Linked DNA regions of Homo sapiens: region 2 is linked to region 1. The links are contacts of gene promoters, found by promoter capture Hi-C in blood cells and fetal thymus (Javierre and others, 2016). All regions are on one chromosome and are shown on one strand. Each heading gives the region's core, a stretch centred on a gene start or on the middle of the fragment in contact. The rest is flanking DNA. Distances are from core to core; before and after follow the strand shown. Region 1 holds the start of INPP4B (inositol polyphosphate-4-phosphatase type II B). Region 2 overlaps INPP4B (inositol polyphosphate-4-phosphatase type II B).

Region 1 (3,141 bases), core at 472-2,971:
AAAAAGCTTGAAGAGAAGCAAAAGGAAGGGCTTCGGGGGCGCCAAGCAGTTTCTGGCCTATAGTGTTTATTATTTGATTCTATAAACATTTATTGAAACTACAGAATATTAGGTATTGTCCCAAGCTCTGGGAGCAGAGTGATGAAAAAAATAAATGAAACGAACAAACAACTCCCCCCACCAAACAAAACAAAACAAAACAAAACAAAACAAACCCAAAGTCCCTGTCCTCATTGGCAAGGCTTATAATGTGGTGGTCAAAGGTTTGAGGAGTGAAAGGATGCCTAGATGCGGGCAGTGACAGCAGGGGTGACAGCTGGGGGTACATACAGCTTCCTGGTTTGTGAAACTGTTAAGCCCCGACTTAACCCAAATTGATTTCACTGTCCTGACTTTGAGATTCCAGTCTTTTTGCATGGCAAATGTAACACTTGTGTACAAGCATTCGTACACTGCTTTACTTAAAATGTGATTTTAAAGCGCCCTCAGGGAGAAGGGCTGGGGTGTCTTGATGGGCTGGCTCTGGGCACCTTTACCTTTGAACGGCTCCATCAAAACCTTTCCGAGAGAGCCGCCAGGTGGCACCTGTAAAGCGCAGATGGGGAGAGTCATTTGCCCCACACCCTACACAGCCCGGAATAACCAGGGTGCGTGCTTTCCCCTGTGGGCTTGTTAGGGGCTAGGAAGTGGGGGAGTTTTAGTCTCCGTCCAGACTGCTTGCTTACATACCCCGTTTTCCTGATACCCCAACACATTCAGGGCGGATTTGTCCCCACGCACCCGGGATATCAAAGGCATGTCATACGCTAGTTGGGAGCATCTCGGCCTCAGTCACCCGCCGCGACGTGGGAACTGGCGGTGGGTGGCCGAGGGCTGCTCTAAGCTGGTCTCCTCAGCCCGACCTCTGCCCGGGGCAAGGGGGAGGAGGGGCAAGAGACAGGGGTCCCAGCGCGGCTGCAGACTGGGGTCCAGCAGGCGTGAATGGATGCCTAGACGCAGGCAGTGACAGCAGGGATCCCAAGCCCCTTCCAAAAACCCTCGGTCTAGGGACTGCGCTGCCATAGGCCGGGGTCTGGGGCGCTTTCTTCCTCCCGCGGGTTCTTTCTCTGTGGTTTCTCCTGCCCCCGCAGCAGCGTGGCGGCCTCGGGTCCCCCCTCGTCGCGGTAGCGGTGATCCCACAGCCCAGTCTGGGTGGGCGACCCAGCGGGCAGAGGGGCCGCAGAAAGGGGTCGGGGTACGGGGTGTGAGCACACGGAGCCAGCGTGGTAATTTCGGGGTGGGCAGCCGGGCCACCATCTCCGCTCTATCAGTAGCGGGAAGCGAGCAGCGCCAGTTGCGCGACTGTCGCTGCCACGGCCGCCTCTACTCGGTCGCTGGTGACATTGGGAGGAGACCGCTTGGAGAGAGCAGAGGAGGAGGAAGAGGAGCGGGGAGGGTGGGGGTTGGGGTGGAAGAAAGTAGCAATTGTGCCAGGGGGCGTGTGAGCAGCCGGAGAGCCAGCCGCGCTGGTGACAACTTCTCTGGGGCGCGCGCGGGGCTGGTAGGCGAGGAGCGAGCAGGGAGCGCGGCCGAAGCCAGAGGCTGGGGGAGCTGCTGGAGCCTCGCGAAGCCGCGGCCGGCGCCCTGCGCCGTCGCCGCCGCCTGCTAGTTTCCTCCGGGTTCTCAGCCCCGGGTACTGAGGCTTCGGTCTATAAATAGCAGGTTACAGCTCCTCCTGGGCGCGCACACGCTCACACGCTCGCAAGCGAACGCAGGAAAGTCAGGCTAAAAGTGTCTGCTGCTGCTGCCGCCCCCCACTCCGCCTCCGGGAGAGGTAATTACCCGCCTGGGATCCTAGGGCTCGGTGGGGGAATTTTGCAGGGTGGGGTGGTTGATGGTGGGTAATCCGGGAGGCGAGGGAGCGTGTCTGAGAGCGTGGCGGCACGTCTTGGAGGGGGGAGCCTGTCTGTTTTGCATCAAGTTTCTCCGTCTTGCAGCCTCCATCACCCCTCCAGCTCTTTAGCTTAAAGGGTGGGGTGGGCTGTCTCTCCTCGGCTGCTGGGGTACCCCTGTCACCGCGCCTACCCTCTCGCCGAGCGCCCCTCTGCCCGGCGCGCGCGCGTTTTCGCATTCTCACTCACACACGCACACTCTCCGGGCCCCCGTGGAACTCTGAGCTCTGGCCTCGCTGACCTTCCAAGGCTGCGCCCACCTGCGCTGTCCCTGAGAGACGCTGAGGTTGGCCCGGGCACTCGCTCTCACTTCCAATCCTGATGATCGCAAGCTGCCGCCGCCGCCGCCGCCGCCGCCGCCGGCCTGGGAAGAAGTCCTTAAGGAATAGAGGCAGTGGTGGGGAGTGAGGGTGACTGATGTTGGTGGTCCCGGTTGCCTTGTTTTTTGTTTTAAAAATAAAGAGCCCATCTCCTTGACCACCTTCATCCCACCCTCAACAACTCATTCTGGCAGAGAAGCCTGGCATGTCTTCTCTCGGCCATCAGGCAGCATCTCTTGTCCTTCCCCAAAGAGGTCTCGCTGAGAGGTTAGGGCCTTGGCGCAAGAGTGCCTGGGTTTGGACGGGGGAGGTCATTGTTTCGGGTCTGAGAACTATGCTGCAGGCTCCTCAAGCTCTCTGGCGCTCAGGCAGGGCCCAGGGCCGGGGAATGTCTGGGAGCCTGGTTCCTGAATGTAGTTTCAGGCTGGTAGCTGATATGAAGATGAGGATGCTAGAACCACATATACCTGTTTTTCCCCCTCCCCACGCTTCTGAATTCTCCCTTCCTTGGGGGCAGTAGTTTCTGCTCCTGGGGAGTCGGTGGAGAGGGGCCCAGCAGTTTCTCTTTGGGGACAAGAGGGTGAGGAAGCACATATTGATTAGGTTGTTGCTGCTGCTGCACAAAACTTACTGGAAAAACCCGGTAGGGTTTTCTATTACTCTTGTTTTAAGGATGTAAATTTACTCCTTTTCCTCTTTTATCTTCTCCCTAACCAGAACTAGTTTTCCTTTCTCTTTCTGGAATGTTATTTGAGGTCATTATATTTTATGACTCCAGATGTTACATTTTGCATATCTCCTTCCTGTCAGTATGACAGACAGAACTTGTTTATAAAGGTGTGGCTCTGTAAGTAAAAGCCTAAAGACAGAGGATAAATTCATCTTCTCTC
Region 2 (3,141 bases), core at 270-2,769, 620 kb after region 1:
CTTTTTTAAATCCCGATTTGAAACATTTATGTATAAGCTGATGAATAAACAATTGTGAGTTGGTGTGTTGCCATCACTCTATAGAAGTGTTTAGACAATTATTTGAATATTTTCTTACATAACGGTCTCTACTTTTCCAAGGGAGTGGAAAAGGGAGAATTTAAAAGGCTGCTATGATTGATATCAATTTTTTCACCTCACAGATAAAGATTTCTTGAATTTTTACTGTGGATTTACTTGTGAAGGAAAATAGCAAAGGAATAGAATTAAGAAAATGTTATATAGAAACGTCTAAATATATAGTCAAACTATATATTACAAACAAGATATTATTAGTGGTTTCATAATTTTTTTAAATCAGCGAGAATGAAATCCCACTCATAACATTAAAGTATATTATTAACTTTCACACATCTAAAGTTGGTGTATACCTGAAAGCATAAGTCCGTGTGAGTCTTGTTTGCAGAAATCACGTATATGTGCACTGTTTGCTTATTTGTGTAAAGCATACACATATGTAAAATTGAGAATGGAGGAAGTTATTCTTTGCAGCCAATCCTGACATTGAGTGGAAATGTTGGCAGGGACATAACGGCGCAGCAACTGCTTTTGCATCACTTGCACATAGTGTCTGTCTTGCCTGCAGCTGCCATCAAAAAACACACTTGCTGTTAGTCTCTTAGTCTCACAGTTAGTGTGACATTTGGACTCAACATGAACTGTTTTTATTAAATTTGAGATGGTACATACACAAAGTCTCAGGGTTGTGATACACTTTAAATCCTTTGGGGGCTCCCTTCAATTGGCTTAAGCATTAACACCTTCTGAATTCAAGTTTGAAACATAGCAGTTTTTGAATTGGCGGTGAAGTGTTCTCATAACACTATACTTTTTTAATATTATGGTTTAGTTCCAAAAAAATTCACAAGGAGGAAATGTTAGATATCTCTCAAGTTGTTTACTGCTGTGAAGAAAGGCTCATATGGGGGCTTAGTAATTTTCTGATTCTTTGCTCCTGCAGCCACAGTTACAGATATATAAAATGTATATTGAGTTTTTGCCATGAAAATAATACATGCTCACTATGTGAAATAGTAAAAATATAGAAAATTTATAAAAGAGAAAAGATAAAATCACTTCAAATCCACACCAAGGAAGGCAATTTTGTTTTTCTTTTCTTTTTTTTTTTTTTTTTTTTTGAGGTGGAGTTTTACTACTGTTGCCCAGGCTGGAGTGCAATGGTGTGATCTCGGCTCACCAAAACCTCGCCTCCTGGGTTCAAGTGTTTCTCCTACCTCAACCTCCAAGTAGCCGGAATTACAGGCAAGCGCCACCACGTGCAGATAATTTTGTATTTTTAGTGGAGATGGAGTTTCTCCATGTTGGTCAGGCTGTTCTCGAACTCCCCACCTCAGGTGATCCACCTGCCTCAGCCTCCCAAAGTGCTGGGATTACAGATGTGAGCCACCGCTCCCGGCCTTGTTTTTATTTTCTACATCTACTGTCATCTTCATGAGCCTCGCTGTGGTAGAGAGAGGTTTGTTTCCTGTGACCATCACTCTCTGTTATCATCCTTAATTTTTCCTGCACATCTGAGTTATATTAGGTATACATCTGTGATTCTTTGTATAATGTTAAATAAAACTATAGGCTACTAATCAGTTAAAAATATTTTAATTTAATACATTAAAAAGACTAGAAGGAAGTATACTAACATATGAACAATGGTTATTTCTTGGTGATGGATTTAGAGTAGTAATTTGTTTCACAGAAAAATAAAATGAATACACGAACCCTTACAAGTAGTCTAGGCTATTTAGACTTGCCAGTTAGTGGTACCTTGGTTTCTTCTAGTTTAAATAGCTTACTTCCCATCTAAATATCAAAGTCTGTTCAAAATTTAGCTTCTCCTCAGGCTTGGTTTAAAAAGTTTGGATGACTCTATCTTTTTAGAAAAATTAGCAGTAATTTAGAATTTTACTTTCCTTCTTCCCTATCCCCCCAAAAATATACAGGTAAATGAGGTCAGCTTACTATGTCTTCATAGCATCAGTAACAAAGGGATTCTTGATTCCTTGTAGTATTATTTGGATGCCTAGGAGTTTCTATTATGGGATGACCGATAATCATGGAGATGCATTAGCTTCATCTGGCTTTTGAGTGATATTCTGGCATCTCTATTTGTACTTCCTTGCATCTGATCTTGAGGTGCCTGCACTTGAGAGTTGCTTGGTCCTGATCATATGCCTCTATCAAAACATTGGCATTTTCAGGACTTCCGTAAGCCCTCAATGGGATGTGTATAATCTTTTAGATTTCTTATACACCATTCACCGGCCATGTGGAAAGCAGGGCGGTATTCATCTACCTACCACCTTCCACTATCAGTACCACAAATGGCTTATCTATCATCTTGAATAAGGCACCATTGTCAAAGCCTTATATAGTTCATGTATTAATAGTGCTGTATATTTTATATAGGAATCTAAATACTTTATTGAGAATCACACTATGCTTCATTTTATAACTTTATTTTTCCCCGTTTATCATGTATATTCTGACATCCTTCACAAATGGTTCCCTACAGTATGATTTGTAATGGTCATATGATGTTCTGTCATAGAACTGCTCCATAAGGGAAATATAAATTGTTGCTTAAATTTATATTATACATCAATATATATTAAACATATTATATAAATAAATTAAATGTAGAAAACCTTATAAATACATATTCGTGTACATCTTCAGTATTCTCTAGGTTTAAATACAATAAGTGAAATTACTGAGACAAAGTGTGTATGTATTTTAGGGCCTTGGTTTTATATTTCAGCTTGCCTCTAAAAAGTTTGCATCAATTTTACTTCCATCAATTACATAGGCAAAACTTAAACTCTTATTACTTTTTAAAATTATAGTTTTTGATTACCTGTGTGGTTGAACATTTATCTATATATTTATTACAAATATCCACACAAATACACATAAATGCTTATGTGGAAACTGGGATATTCCTATTTTTCCTTTTGACTTACAAGAGCTACTTGTATATTTAGTATATATTCAGTATATATTTCATGATATATATTTTTCAAATATTATCTCTAATTGTATATTTAAAATTTATTTTTATTATAAAAT

What was found. The method cuts DNA at HindIII sites, captures the fragments that hold promoters and counts their contacts. A CHiCAGO score of 5 or more calls a contact.
Region 2: a contact is called between a fragment that was not itself captured here and the fragment with the promoter of INPP4B in region 1, in 1 of 17 cell types (non-activated CD4 T cells). The highest score is 6.8, in non-activated CD4 T cells.

What each region holds. Positions count from the first base shown.
Region 1 is chr4:142,844,881-142,848,021 of GRCh38, reverse strand. INPP4B (inositol polyphosphate-4-phosphatase type II B) reads left to right here and starts at 1,721. Exons shown (of 26, transcript NM_001101669.3): 1 at 1,721-1,813. The region is part of intron 3 of USP38-DT (USP38 divergent transcript); the gene reads left to right. RefSeq lists an enhancer at 378-964. The HindIII fragment of the contact is 4,051 bases long and covers 9-3,141 here.
Region 2 is chr4:142,228,702-142,231,842 of GRCh38, reverse strand. The region is part of intron 12 of INPP4B (inositol polyphosphate-4-phosphatase type II B); the gene reads left to right. Among named protein-coding and RNA genes, the nearest start is that of IL15, 590 kb to the right of the region's middle. The HindIII fragment of the contact is 6,725 bases long and covers 1-3,141 here.